4 separate regions of the Homo sapiens genome follow, and regions 1, 2 and 3 are each linked to region 4. Evidence: promoter capture Hi-C in 16 types of primary human blood cells and fetal thymus (Javierre and others, 2016). All regions are on one chromosome and are shown on one strand. Each heading gives the region's core, a stretch centred on a gene start or on the middle of the fragment in contact. The rest is flanking DNA. Distances are from core to core; before and after follow the strand shown. Region 1 holds the start of TP53 (tumor protein p53). Region 2 holds the start of TNFSF13 (TNF superfamily member 13). Region 3 holds the start of FXR2 (FMR1 autosomal homolog 2). Region 4 holds the start of SLC16A13 (solute carrier family 16 member 13).

The links. The method cuts DNA at HindIII sites, captures the fragments that hold promoters and counts their contacts. A CHiCAGO score of 5 or more calls a contact.
Region 1: the fragment with the promoter of TP53 here is called in contact with the fragment with the promoter of SLC16A13 in region 4 in 6 of 17 cell types (fetal thymus, naive CD4 T cells, naive B cells and 3 more); the score reaches 9.5 in fetal thymus.
Region 2: a contact is called between the fragment with the promoter of TNFSF13 here and the fragment with the promoter of SLC16A13 in region 4, in 1 of 17 cell types (M0 macrophages). The highest score is 6.2, in M0 macrophages.
Region 3: the fragment with the promoter of FXR2 here is called in contact with the fragment with the promoter of SLC16A13 in region 4 in 2 of 17 cell types (fetal thymus and M0 macrophages); the score reaches 6.0 in fetal thymus.

The regions. Positions count from the first base shown.
Region 1 is chr17:7,686,101-7,688,847 of GRCh38, forward strand. TP53 (tumor protein p53) reads right to left here and starts at 1,390. Exons shown (of 11, transcript NM_000546.6): 1 at 1,277-1,390. WRAP53 (WD repeat containing antisense to TP53) reads left to right here and starts at 2,377. Exons shown (of 11, transcript NM_001143992.2): 1 at 2,377-2,461; 2 at 2,548-2,747. The coding sequence starts at 2,549. RefSeq lists enhancers at 111-240, 260-807, 271-320, 281-1,480, 2,279-2,328. The HindIII fragment of the contact is 572 bases long and covers 1,136-1,707 here.
Region 2 is chr17:7,557,500-7,560,199 of GRCh38, forward strand. It overlaps TNFSF13 (TNF superfamily member 13), which reads left to right and starts at 1,251. Exons shown (of 6, transcript NM_003808.4): 1 at 1,251-1,798; 2 at 2,125-2,203; 3 at 2,347-2,394; 4 at 2,550-2,668. The coding sequence starts at 1,541. It overlaps TNFSF12-TNFSF13 (TNFSF12-TNFSF13 readthrough), which reads left to right. Exons shown (of 11, transcript NM_172089.4): 7 at 2,125-2,203; 8 at 2,347-2,394; 9 at 2,550-2,668. It overlaps TNFSF12 (TNF superfamily member 12), which reads left to right. Exons shown (of 7, transcript NM_003809.3): 7 at 1-382. RefSeq lists enhancers at 1-794, 380-439, 1,250-1,299. The HindIII fragment of the contact is 8,242 bases long and covers 1-2,700 here.
Region 3 is chr17:7,613,598-7,616,360 of GRCh38, forward strand. FXR2 (FMR1 autosomal homolog 2) reads right to left here and starts at 1,300. Exons shown (of 17, transcript NM_004860.4): 1 at 855-1,300. The coding sequence starts at 935. It also overlaps a transcript of SHBG not described here. RefSeq lists silencers at 855-1,384, 1,495-1,544. The HindIII fragment of the contact is 2,190 bases long and covers 83-2,272 here.
Region 4 is chr17:7,034,646-7,037,377 of GRCh38, forward strand. SLC16A13 (solute carrier family 16 member 13) reads left to right here and starts at 1,370. Exons shown (of 4, transcript NM_201566.3): 1 at 1,370-1,936; 2 at 2,082-2,225. The coding sequence starts at 1,738. RefSeq lists enhancers at 809-1,309, 918-967, 1,698-1,937. The HindIII fragment of the contact is 2,004 bases long and covers 1,157-2,732 here.

The DNA of each region.
Region 1 (2,747 bases), core at 140-2,639, 650 kb after region 4:
AACCGGCTCGGGCCGGAGGGCTGCACGGAGGACCACACGGACGCCTGCGGGCCCGCCCCTTCCGCTTCACGACGTTCAGCCTGCGTCTGGAACTGGAATGGCCTAGCCCAAAGCTAGATAACAGGTAGATTGTTTTTCCGACAAATTATCAAACGACCCATCATTGCACTCTTTCAAAATTTGATTCTCAGACGTACCCATTCTTTTTTTTTTTCCTCCGGGAAGATGAGATATACTCATTCTTGAAAATACCTCCGGGCTTGCCTTCTGCACACTTCTTTCCCTCCCTGTCTCACGCCATGGTAGCGTCCGCCTAGGTTGCAGGCGACCCGCGGGGTGGGGCACACCATTCAAAGAAGGGGAGGGATTGAGGTTTGCATCAAAACAAATACCCCTGCCTTTGCAAAGGCCATAACTAAGTAATCCAGAAAAAGAAATGCAGGCGGAGAATAGCAGCCTCCCTCTGCCAAGTAAGAGGAACCGGCCTAAAGGACATTTTCTCTCTCTCTCCTCCCCTCTCATCGGGTGAATAGTGAGCTGCTCCGGCAAAAAGAAACCGGAAATGCTGCTGCAAGAGGCAGAAATGTAAATGTGGAGCCAAACAATAACAGGGCTGCCGGGCCTCTCAGATTGCGACGGTCCTCCTCGGCCTGGCGGGCAAACCCCTGGTTTAGCACTTCTCACTTCCACGACTGACAGCCTTCAATTGGATTTTCTCCATCTAGCGGAGCCGGGGGCTGCCTGGAAAGATCGCTCCAGGAAGGACAAAGGTCCGGAAGTTGTGGGACCTTAGCAGCTTGGGCTCCCCGGATCACCCCCAAATGATCATTTCGGAATGGAGCCCCAGTTTTCACTAGGATGCCATGGGCTCTAAAATATACAGCTATGAGTTCTCAATGTTTCGAGATCCAAAAGTCTCAGACCTCAATGCTTTGTGCATCTTTTATTTCAGGGATTCCCTACGCCCAGCACCGGGTGGATGTGCAAAGAAGTACGCTTTAGGCCGGCTCAAGGTTCCCCAAAGCTCCACTCCTCTGCCTAGGCGTTCAACTTTGAGTTCGGATGGTCCTAACATCCCCATCATCTACACCCAGGTCTCCCAACAATGCAACTCCTATGATGATCCCTCTAGCCAAGCTTCCATCCCACTCACCCCCAAACTCGCTAAGTCCCCACTGCCCCACCCCCAGCCCCAGCGATTTTCCCGAGCTGAAAATACACGGAGCCGAGAGCCCGTGACTCAGAGAGGACTCATCAAGTTCAGTCAGGAGCTTACCCAATCCAGGGAAGCGTGTCACCGTCGTGGAAAGCACGCTCCCAGCCCGAACGCAAAGTGTCCCCGGAGCCCAGCAGCTACCTGCTCCCTGGACGGTGGCTCTAGACTTTTGAGAAGCTCAAAACTTTTAGCGCCAGTCTTGAGCACATGGGAGGGGAAAACCCCAATCCCATCAACCCCTGCGAGGCTCCTGGCACAAAGCTGGACAGTCGCCATGACAAGTAAGGGCAAGTAATCCGCCTGCCGGAGGAAGCAAAGGAAATGGAGTTGGGGAGGAGGGTGCAGAGTCAGGATTCTCGCCGACCTGGTGCCGTAGATACTAACATTTTGGGGTGGAAAATTCTGCAAGCCAGAGCTGTGAGGGCAGAATTGGTGGAAATCATTTTGGAGGAATCCTGCATTGTGTCAAATATGAAGGGTGGAAGGAAGAAAGCTTTTGCGTTTGCTCTCAGCTGGATCCTTTCTTCTCATCAGTTAAAATGTCATTTTTTAGGAAGGCTTTCCGTAATATCACACCCTAACGTTTTCTCCCAGATACTTTATATCACACCATCTTATTTAATCTCCTTCACAACCCTTATCACTCTGATAAGATTTATTTGTTCATTGCTTTCAGTACATGGAAACGTAAGCCTTATGAGGATATAGAATTTTTCTACTATCTTATTCATTGTTGTATTCCTGAGTGCCTATATCAGTGCTGGGTAGCAAGTAAGAGCTCGATAATAAATATTTTTTGAATGAGGGAGACAGGTCTGAAGCCTGGAGAATGAGATGCAGAAGAGGTGCAAGACCTGCTGCGCCCTCTGCAGGCGGCGGGGGGGCGGTGCAGGTGCTTTAAGAATTACCGCGGGACTCGGTAGGGGGAGCGTAGGCGCTTCTCGCCAAGATAGAAGCGTTCAGACTACAACTCCCAGCAGCCACGAGGAGCCCTAGGGCTTGATGGGAACGGGAAACCTTCTAACCTTTCACGTCCCGGCTCCGCGGGTTCCGTGGGTCGCCCGCGAAATCTGATCCGGGATGCGGCGGCCCAATCGGAAGGTGGACCGAAATCCCGCGACAGCAAGAGGCCCGTAGCGACCCGCGGTGCTAAGGAACACAGTGCTTTCAAAAGAATTGGCGTCCGCTGTTCGCCTCTCCTCCCGGGAGTCTTCTGCCTACTCCCAGAAGAGGAGGGAAGCACAGGTGGGTTTCTTTAGCTCTGCGTCGGATCCCTGAGAACTTCGAAGCCATCCTGGCTGAGGCTAATCTCCGCTGTGCTTCCTCTGCAGTATGAAGACTTTGGAGACTCAACCGTTAGCTCCGGACTGCTGTCCTTCAGACCAGGACCCAGCTCCAGCCCATCCTTCTCCCCACGCTTCCCCGATGAATAAAAATGCGGACTCTGAACTGATGCCACCGCCTCCCGAAAGGGGGGATCCGCCCCGGTTGTCCCCAGATCCTGTGGCTGGCTCAGCTGTGTCCCAGGAGC
Region 2 (2,700 bases), core at 1-2,500, 520 kb after region 4:
TCCATCCCACATAAATACAGTATTCCCACTCTTATCTTACAACTCCCCCACCGCCCACTCTCCACCTCACTAGCTCCCCAATCCCTGACCCTTTGAGGCCCCCAGTGATCTCGACTCCCCCCTGGCCACAGACCCCCAGGGCATTGTGTTCACTGTACTCTGTGGGCAAGGATGGGTCCAGAAGACCCCACTTCAGGCACTAAGAGGGGCTGGACCTGGCGGCAGGAAGCCAAAGAGACTGGGCCTAGGCCAGGAGTTCCCAAATGTGAGGGGCGAGAAACAAGACAAGCTCCTCCCTTGAGAATTCCCTGTGGATTTTTAAAACAGATATTATTTTTATTATTATTGTGACAAAATGTTGATAAATGGATATTAAATAGAATAAGTCATAGTCTCTCTCTTTATTGGGGCTCAGGGGACACTCTCAGGGTAGCTGGGGGCCACGTGAAGGGGGGCGTTGCGGAGCGGCACAGCTGGAACTCCGGGATGATGTTCAGGCTTGGGGGCGGGGACCTCCATGCCTCCAGCCCCCAGGTGGGAGCAGAGGTAGGAAGGCACACTGCCCAGGAAAAAAATCAATCCTCCGCCCAAGGTACAGCAGAAGCGGCCTCCTTGGCCTAGGAGGCAGACTTCCTCCTGCGGGGAAATCCCTTCCTGGCTGGGAGGAGCAGGGGCCCTTCCTCTTGGTGGCCTCGGACATTCAGCAGGTGCTGGCACAGGCCCTGGCTGGGAGGTGGGGCGGGCAGGAGCCAGCCTGGAGGAGGGGCTGAGAGTCAGCAGGCACACGGGAACCCGGAACCCTGTGTGCTGGGGAGGAATCCCGCAGTGGCCGGGGGGCTTGAGGCCGCTGCTTTGTCTCTTCGTCCAGAGCCTTATGTAAGAGCTTTTCTCGGGAAACAGGAAGTCCTGCTTGCCAATTTCAGCACAGGGAGTAGTGCAGGCCTTATTCCAACACACCCGGCCCAGCCTTAACCCCAGAACTCAGCCAGTTTCTTGCTTCCGTGCCCCTGGTTCTCCTCCCCATCGAGCCCACCCCTCCTTTCCCACCTTCAGTCACCCCTAGTGAACTGCCCCAGCGATCTCTGCTGTGCTTGACCCCGAGGGTCTTCCACCCTCGCCCTGACCCTGGACACTGCCCAGCTTGGCCCCCCATCCTGCTCCTGGCACAATGCCCTCTAGCCAGCCAACCTTCCCTCCCCCAACCCTGGGGCCGCCCCAGGGTTCCTGCGCACTGCCTGTTCCTCCTGGGTGTCACTGGCAGCCCTGTCCTTCCTAGAGGGACTGGAACCTAATTCTCCTGAGGCTGAGGGAGGGTGGAGGGTCTCAAGGCAACGCTGGCCCCACGACGGAGTGCCAGGAGCACTAACAGTACCCTTAGCTTGCTTTCCTCCTCCCTCCTTTTTATTTTCAAGTTCCTTTTTATTTCTCCTTGCGTAACAACCTTCTTCCCTTCTGCACCACTGCCCGTACCCTTACCCGCCCCGCCACCTCCTTGCTACCCCACTCTTGAAACCACAGCTGTTGGCAGGGTCCCCAGCTCATGCCAGCCTCATCTCCTTTCTTGCTAGCCCCCAAAGGGCCTCCAGGCAACATGGGGGGCCCAGTCAGAGAGCCGGCACTCTCAGTTGCCCTCTGGTTGAGTTGGGGGGCAGCTCTGGGGGCCGTGGCTTGTGCCATGGCTCTGCTGACCCAACAAACAGAGCTGCAGAGCCTCAGGAGAGAGGTGAGCCGGCTGCAGGGGACAGGAGGCCCCTCCCAGAATGGGGAAGGGTATCCCTGGCAGAGTCTCCCGGAGCAGGTGAGTGAGGGGAGGAGGGTGTCTGGGAGAGGATGGTTAGCATGGGGGGTCTCTGGGCCTCCTGGTCTGCAAAGTTTCAAGGGGGTGCAAGAGAGGGTCTCCGGTTTGGAAGTCAGGGGCGCGGCCATTCCAGGAAAGGAAACTGTTAAAGGTTAATGCTTCTCATACCTAACAAATCCTGGAGGGCAGCCAGCACCAACACTCAGGGTGCTGGGAAAAGGTGCGTGAGAGATCTGAGGCATCTCGGGGGCAGGGGAGGGCTGGGAAGGCAGGCTGGCTGGGACCCTCGCATCTTAACCTAACCTTGACCCTCTTTCCATGAGCAGAGTTCCGATGCCCTGGAAGCCTGGGAGAATGGGGAGAGATCCCGGAAAAGGAGAGCAGTGCTCACCCAAAAACAGAAGAGTGAGGCTTCCAGGGTGCAGCAGGGGTGGGAGGTGATCAAGCAGCGTGGGGATTGTAAGCCCGAGTCAGGGTGAGGGTGGAGGCTGCCAACAGCACAACGGGGGAAAGTGGATGCGGCTGAGATTCCCTCCTTCTCTCCTCAGAGCAGCACTCTGTCCTGCACCTGGTTCCCATTAACGCCACCTCCAAGGGTGAGCACTATTTTAAATAATGGCTTTGGGGAGGGGCAATAACCAGGAACTCGGGCTGGCACTTGGGCTCAAGGGGTCCTTATAGGTGAAAGGGAAAGAACCAAAAAGCACCTGAGAGTGCCAAGAAGTCCTGACCGACACACTCTCACCTCCAGATGACTCCGATGTGACAGAGGTGATGTGGCAACCAGCTCTTAGGCGTGGGAGAGGCCTACAGGCCCAAGGATATGGTGTCCGAATCCAGGATGCTGGAGTTTATCTGCTGTATAGCCAGGTAACCCCAGCCACACTCTGAGCTTCACAGAG
Region 3 (2,763 bases), core at 50-2,549, 580 kb after region 4:
CAAGAAGTGGAAATCTTAAGATAAACAGAAGGGAACCTCATAAGCTTCCTTTCAGAGATCCTTTTAGAGATTATGACTATGAAGCTTACATGCCTCAAGACGAAGAAACTATATGAATGACCTGAAGGTATCTGAGGTCTAAGTGAGACCTCAAATCCATTCCTGAGTAGAATGGTAGAGCAGTGGGTCTTGAGATCAAGGTGTGGTGGGGAGAGAGACTTGCGAAAGATGCCACCTTATGGCTGGCTGGGAAGCAACTTGACTGATCCAACCCAGGGTTCCTGAGGTCAAAGATGCCAAACGTCGTAAATGGATCTGACCATTTCTCCTTGGCTTGGGAACCGGAATATAAGATGAAAGTGGGGTGAGTGTTCCAGAGCCAGTAGGCAGAGGCCTCTCTGAGGAAGATGAAAGGATCTTTTACGGGACAGAGGGCCTTCCCAAAGGGACCGTGTGGAAGAAAGACAATTCTCCATGTGCTTGGATCGTGGGGAAGATGTGATTAAGGTCTAAGGTATGTCTTCCACCAGACAACGGACACAGTCAATTAGAAGCTGGGTAAAGGGGTCTCTCCTGCGGAGCGGGGAGCGCCAAGCCAGGGACAATAATGGCCTGAAGTTCATTCTCCCGGAGATGGGGGTAGAAGCAGGTGCAGGTGCCTTAGAGGGGTCAAAAATAAGAGGAACAGGGTTCACTCTAAGCGGTCTCCCAGGGAAGGCTGCGGGTTGGAGCAAGGGTCCAAGATTCTAAGGGCCAGGACTCAGCTCCAGAAGCTCGATCCCGCCCCACGCGTTCCTGCTCCGGCCAGGGGAGGGGGCTAAGGACCGGCGTCCCCAGTCGGCGCGCCGTCTCACCTTGTAGAAGGCCCCGTTGGAGCCGCGCACCTCGACGGGCAGTCCCGGCTCCACATCCCCCCCAGAGGCCAGGCCGCCCATGGCGCCGCCACCGCCTCCGACTCCCCCGGCGGCGGCTGCAGCAGCAGTCTGAGTGCGGGCCGGGCCAGGCCCCCGGCGTCTCCCCGGAGGAGGAGCCGGAGGGGGAGCCGCGGGGGGCGGGAGCCGGGCCGGCCCCACGGCGGCCCTGCCACAGCCAACGAGCAGGGGGCCGGGGCCGGGCCGCTCCCCGTCCGCCGCCGCCGCCTTGGTCTCCGCCACCGTGAGGGAAACGGCCGCCGCCGCCGCTGCCTTCGTCACCTCAGCTTCCGCCCGCCGCCGCCCCCGCTGCTGCCTCAGTCCCGGGACCCGCTGCTGCCGCTGCCGCTCCACAGCCTCCACCTCCCCCTGCCACCGCCGCCTACTGCGCAGGCGCACCGGGCACCCGCCCGCTGCGCGCGGGGCCCCGAGGGCCACCGCGCAGGCGTCAAGGTTAGAGCCCCAGCTAGCGCCAGCTAGCGCATCGGGGCTTCCACATTCCCTTTCACTCTCTCACTCCCCCTCCTGGTCGCTTGCTAGCGCTTGCGCAGAACAAGATTAGCCTTCTTTCTTCACCGCTCCACCGCCCAGCCACCCCGTCTCTTCCTTTCCCCGCCCCACAACACTGAGAACCAACCAATCAGGGGGAGGGAGGGGCCGGGCTCGCTCAGTCCGATTGGGCGGCGTCCGCACAGTCACACAGCGCTCAGGCCACACCCACTCCGCCGCCGCTGGCCCCACCGGGCTTGGACAAGTTAGGGATGGGCATGCGCCTGAACGACTGCTTGGTCACTTTCCCCACCTTTGTCTTTCTTGGTGCGCACGCTCCAAAAAGAAAAAAAAAAGAAGAGGAGTCGCCGCAAGGAAAAAGGTGCTTGGTGCGCACGCGCTGAGCTTTACCCTCTTCGCGTATGCATCGCCGATATTTTAAGAATCTGTAACTCTCTACTGTAGTAGATTTAACAGTCATGGCTCTTACCTTGAAGAGATTGTGATACAATGAAAGTTTTGGCCGGGCGCGGTGGCTCACGCCTGTAATCCCAGCGCTCTGGGAGGCCGAGGCAGGTGGATCACCTGAGGTCCTCGGATCACCTGAGGTCAGGGGTTCGAGACCAGCGTGGCCAAAATGGTGAAACCCACCCCCCCCCCCACCCCGCATCTAATAAAATACAAAAATTAGCCGGGCGTGGTGACACGCGCCTGTAATCCCAGATACTCGGGAGGCTGAGGCAGGAGACTACCTTGAACCTGGGAGGCAGAAGTTGCAGTGAGCCAAGATCGCACCATTGCACTCCAGCCTGGGCGACAGAGCAAGACTCAGTCTCAAAAAAAAAAAAAAAAGAAAGAAAGAATAGAAAGAAAGCTTTAAGAATAGTTTCAGACGGGCGCTGTGGCTCACTCCTGTAATCCCAGCACTTTAGGAGGCTCAGGCGGTGGATCACTTGAGCCCAAAAGTTTGACACCAGCCTCAACAGGGCGAAACCCTGTTTCTACTAAAAATACAAAAATTAGGACGGGCGCGGTGGCTCAGGCCTGTAATCCCAGCACTTTGGGAGGCCGAGATCACGGGCGGGCGGATCACGAGGTCAGGAGATGGAGACCATTCTGGCCAACATGGTGAAACCTCGTCTCTACTAAAATACAAAAAATTAGCCGTGGTAGTTCCAGCTACTCGGAAGGAGTCCCAGCTACTCAGGAGGCTGAGGCAGGAGAATCGCTTGAACCTAGGAAGGTGGAGGTTGCAGTGAGTGGATATCATGCCACCACACTCCAGCCTGGGCAATGAGTGAAATTTCTTCTTTAAAAATAATAATAATGGCAGGGCGCGGTGGCTCATGCCTATAATCCCAAC
Region 4 (2,732 bases), core at 120-2,619:
TGTAATCCCAGAAACTCAGGAGACTGAGGCAGGAGAATCACTTGAACCCGGGAGGTGGAGGTTGCAGTGAGCCAAGATCATGCCACTGCACTCCAGCCTGGGCCACAGAGCAAGACTCCATCTCAAAATAAATAAATAAATAAATAAATAAATAAATAAATAAATAAATAAAAGACTGGAACTGTGATCTGATTCTAAAGACCCGAGTTCTTAATCACTATGTAATACAGCCACAGCAATTTCTGTATCTTTGGCATATTCCCCACCAGCCGACATTTTGACTCTTAGAAAGTATATATGTGTATTATTGATGATTACTTTTATTTCCCACATATAAAATTATTTAAGGCTCAATATGTCTTTTAAGACTACACACCTCCCTCCCTGCCTCCACTTCTTGTTTGCTGCTTTCCCCAGTAATCTGGGAGTGAACATTGAGTCCACGGTTTCAAGGTCAGGGTCCTGGGAAGTATGGCTTATAATGAAGGAACAGGAAATCCAAGCCATTGGTGTTATGGAGACTGGGAAGGACTGGGGAGTGTTTGCTAGGGGCCTGAGGACTACTTGGGTAAGAGGGGGCTGACTGCTCCAGTGGCCAGGGTCATAGTTTGTCTCTTTAGTCTACCCCACCATCAGATCAAAAAAGGTGGTTAGGAAGTGGTTGTTACTAGAGGGCAGAGGAAAAGGTTCCAGCCCCAGTGAGGAAGAGGTAGGTGGTGTTGGTGGGGCCCTGTGTGAGCTTACAGCCGCCCTTCCTCTCCTCAGTTATTTTTGGTCTCTGTGACCTGTAGGTTTCCTGTTAGTGGGAACAGAAGTGACAGGAACGAGTTCCCACTACAGAAATGAACGCCAGGAGTCCAACTCATTCCCCTTCTCTCTTCCCTTAGCCGTTGAACTTCTCAGGGATCCAGGCTTCTAGGTCTGCGTGCCTAGGGCTGCGTGTTAGTGGCTTCAGGCGCTGCGCCAAACACTTCGTTTGAGTCTCATCTCCTAACCCCTCCCCTACCCCCAACAGGGCCTTGCAATTCCTGGACCCCTCATTAAAGCAAGAGAGTCCTCTCCTCTCCAGACCCAGTTTACCCACCACTAACCCTTCCGTGTGGCTCTGGGTGCTGAAACGGGGATGACTTGGCCCGCTAGGTGAAGAGGAGACGGAAGCTTCCTGGCAGTCCCCGCGTCACGTGGGGCCCTACCTAGTCAGCCTCCTAACGCCCCTCCTTACGCATGCGCCCATTCACTGCTGGTCCCCAACAATGCCTAAATCCCGCCCTGCCCTTCTCGTTCCGCCCCTGCCCGGGAGCCCCGCGTCCTCATTGGCGAGCTCCAGGGTGGCCCGGCCCGGACACCCCAGTGATAAAATAGATCATCTACACGGAAACTGGCGCGCTCCAGGGGTGGGGCCCAAACTCAGTTCCACCCTCTGGCTCCCAGCCGAACACCGAACCGGGACCGATCCGGCCCCGGCTTGAACTAGCTCAGCTCCGAGCTCGCGGAACCACGCCCCCGGGAGACTCTGGCCCGGCCAGCGCGGGCCAGGTCTTCAGTCCTATATCGCCCCGCCTTGGGAAAAGGTGCAGGGGCCTCTCGCCGCCTCGTCGGGCCCTTCCTCTCTACCTGCCTCTCCAACCCCTCTCGGCCCCGAGCCACCCGGCAGCGGGGGTGGGTGTGCAGAGGTGCGGCGTCCAGAACCCGGCTCCTGCAGAGGCTCTGGGTGGCAGCAGCCCTGTTACCGCTTAGATGGCGCGCAGGACAGAGCCCCCCGACGGGGGCTGGGGATGGGTGGTGGTGCTCTCAGCGTTCTTCCAGTCGGCGCTTGTGTTTGGGGTGCTCCGCTCCTTTGGGGTCTTCTTCGTGGAGTTTGTGGCGGCGTTTGAGGAGCAGGCAGCGCGCGTCTCCTGGATCGCCTCCATAGGAATCGCGGTGCAGCAGTTTGGGAGTGAGTGCGGCGCCTGGATCTGGCGGACTGCGACCCTCGGAAGGGAGAGGGAATGCGGCGACTGGGAAGTGGAAGGGCGAGGGGCGGGAGATGCTGGGGGGGAGACCCCTGAGATCTTCTCGCAGCGCCCCTTCCACTTCCTCAGGCCCGGTAGGCAGTGCCCTGAGCACGAAGTTCGGGCCCAGGCCCGTGGTGATGACTGGAGGCATCTTGGCTGCGCTGGGGATGCTGCTCGCCTCTTTTGCTACTTCCTTGACCCACCTATACCTGAGTATTGGGTTGCTGTCAGGTGAGAGCCTGCACAAGGGCAGGAGAGTCAAATGCTTAGATCGTTGGATGTTCACCTCCTTCCTGCTCCTTCCAAAGGGTTCGGGGAGAAGCTGAGGGAAAGTTTAGCTAGCACCTGTACCCAGAAGGGAATTCTTAATAGGAATGACTAAAGCGACAAACATGGTGAGGAATTAGGAAATTCAAGGATGATGAAACCTGGCCGGGCACGGTGGCTCACGCCTGTAATCCCAGCACTTTGGGAAGCCGAGGCGGGTGGATCACGAGGTCAGGAGTTTGAGACCAGCCTGGCCAACATGGTGAAACCCCGTCTCTACAAAAATACAAAAATTAGCCGGGCCTGGTGGCGCTAATCCCAGTTACTCGGGAGGCTGAGGCAGGAGAATCGCTTGAACCCGGGAGGCGGAGGTTGCAGTGAGCCAAGATCGCACCACTGCACTCCAGCCTGGGCGACAGAGCAAGATTCTGTCTCAAAAAAAAAAAAAAAAAAGATGAAACCAAGTATACA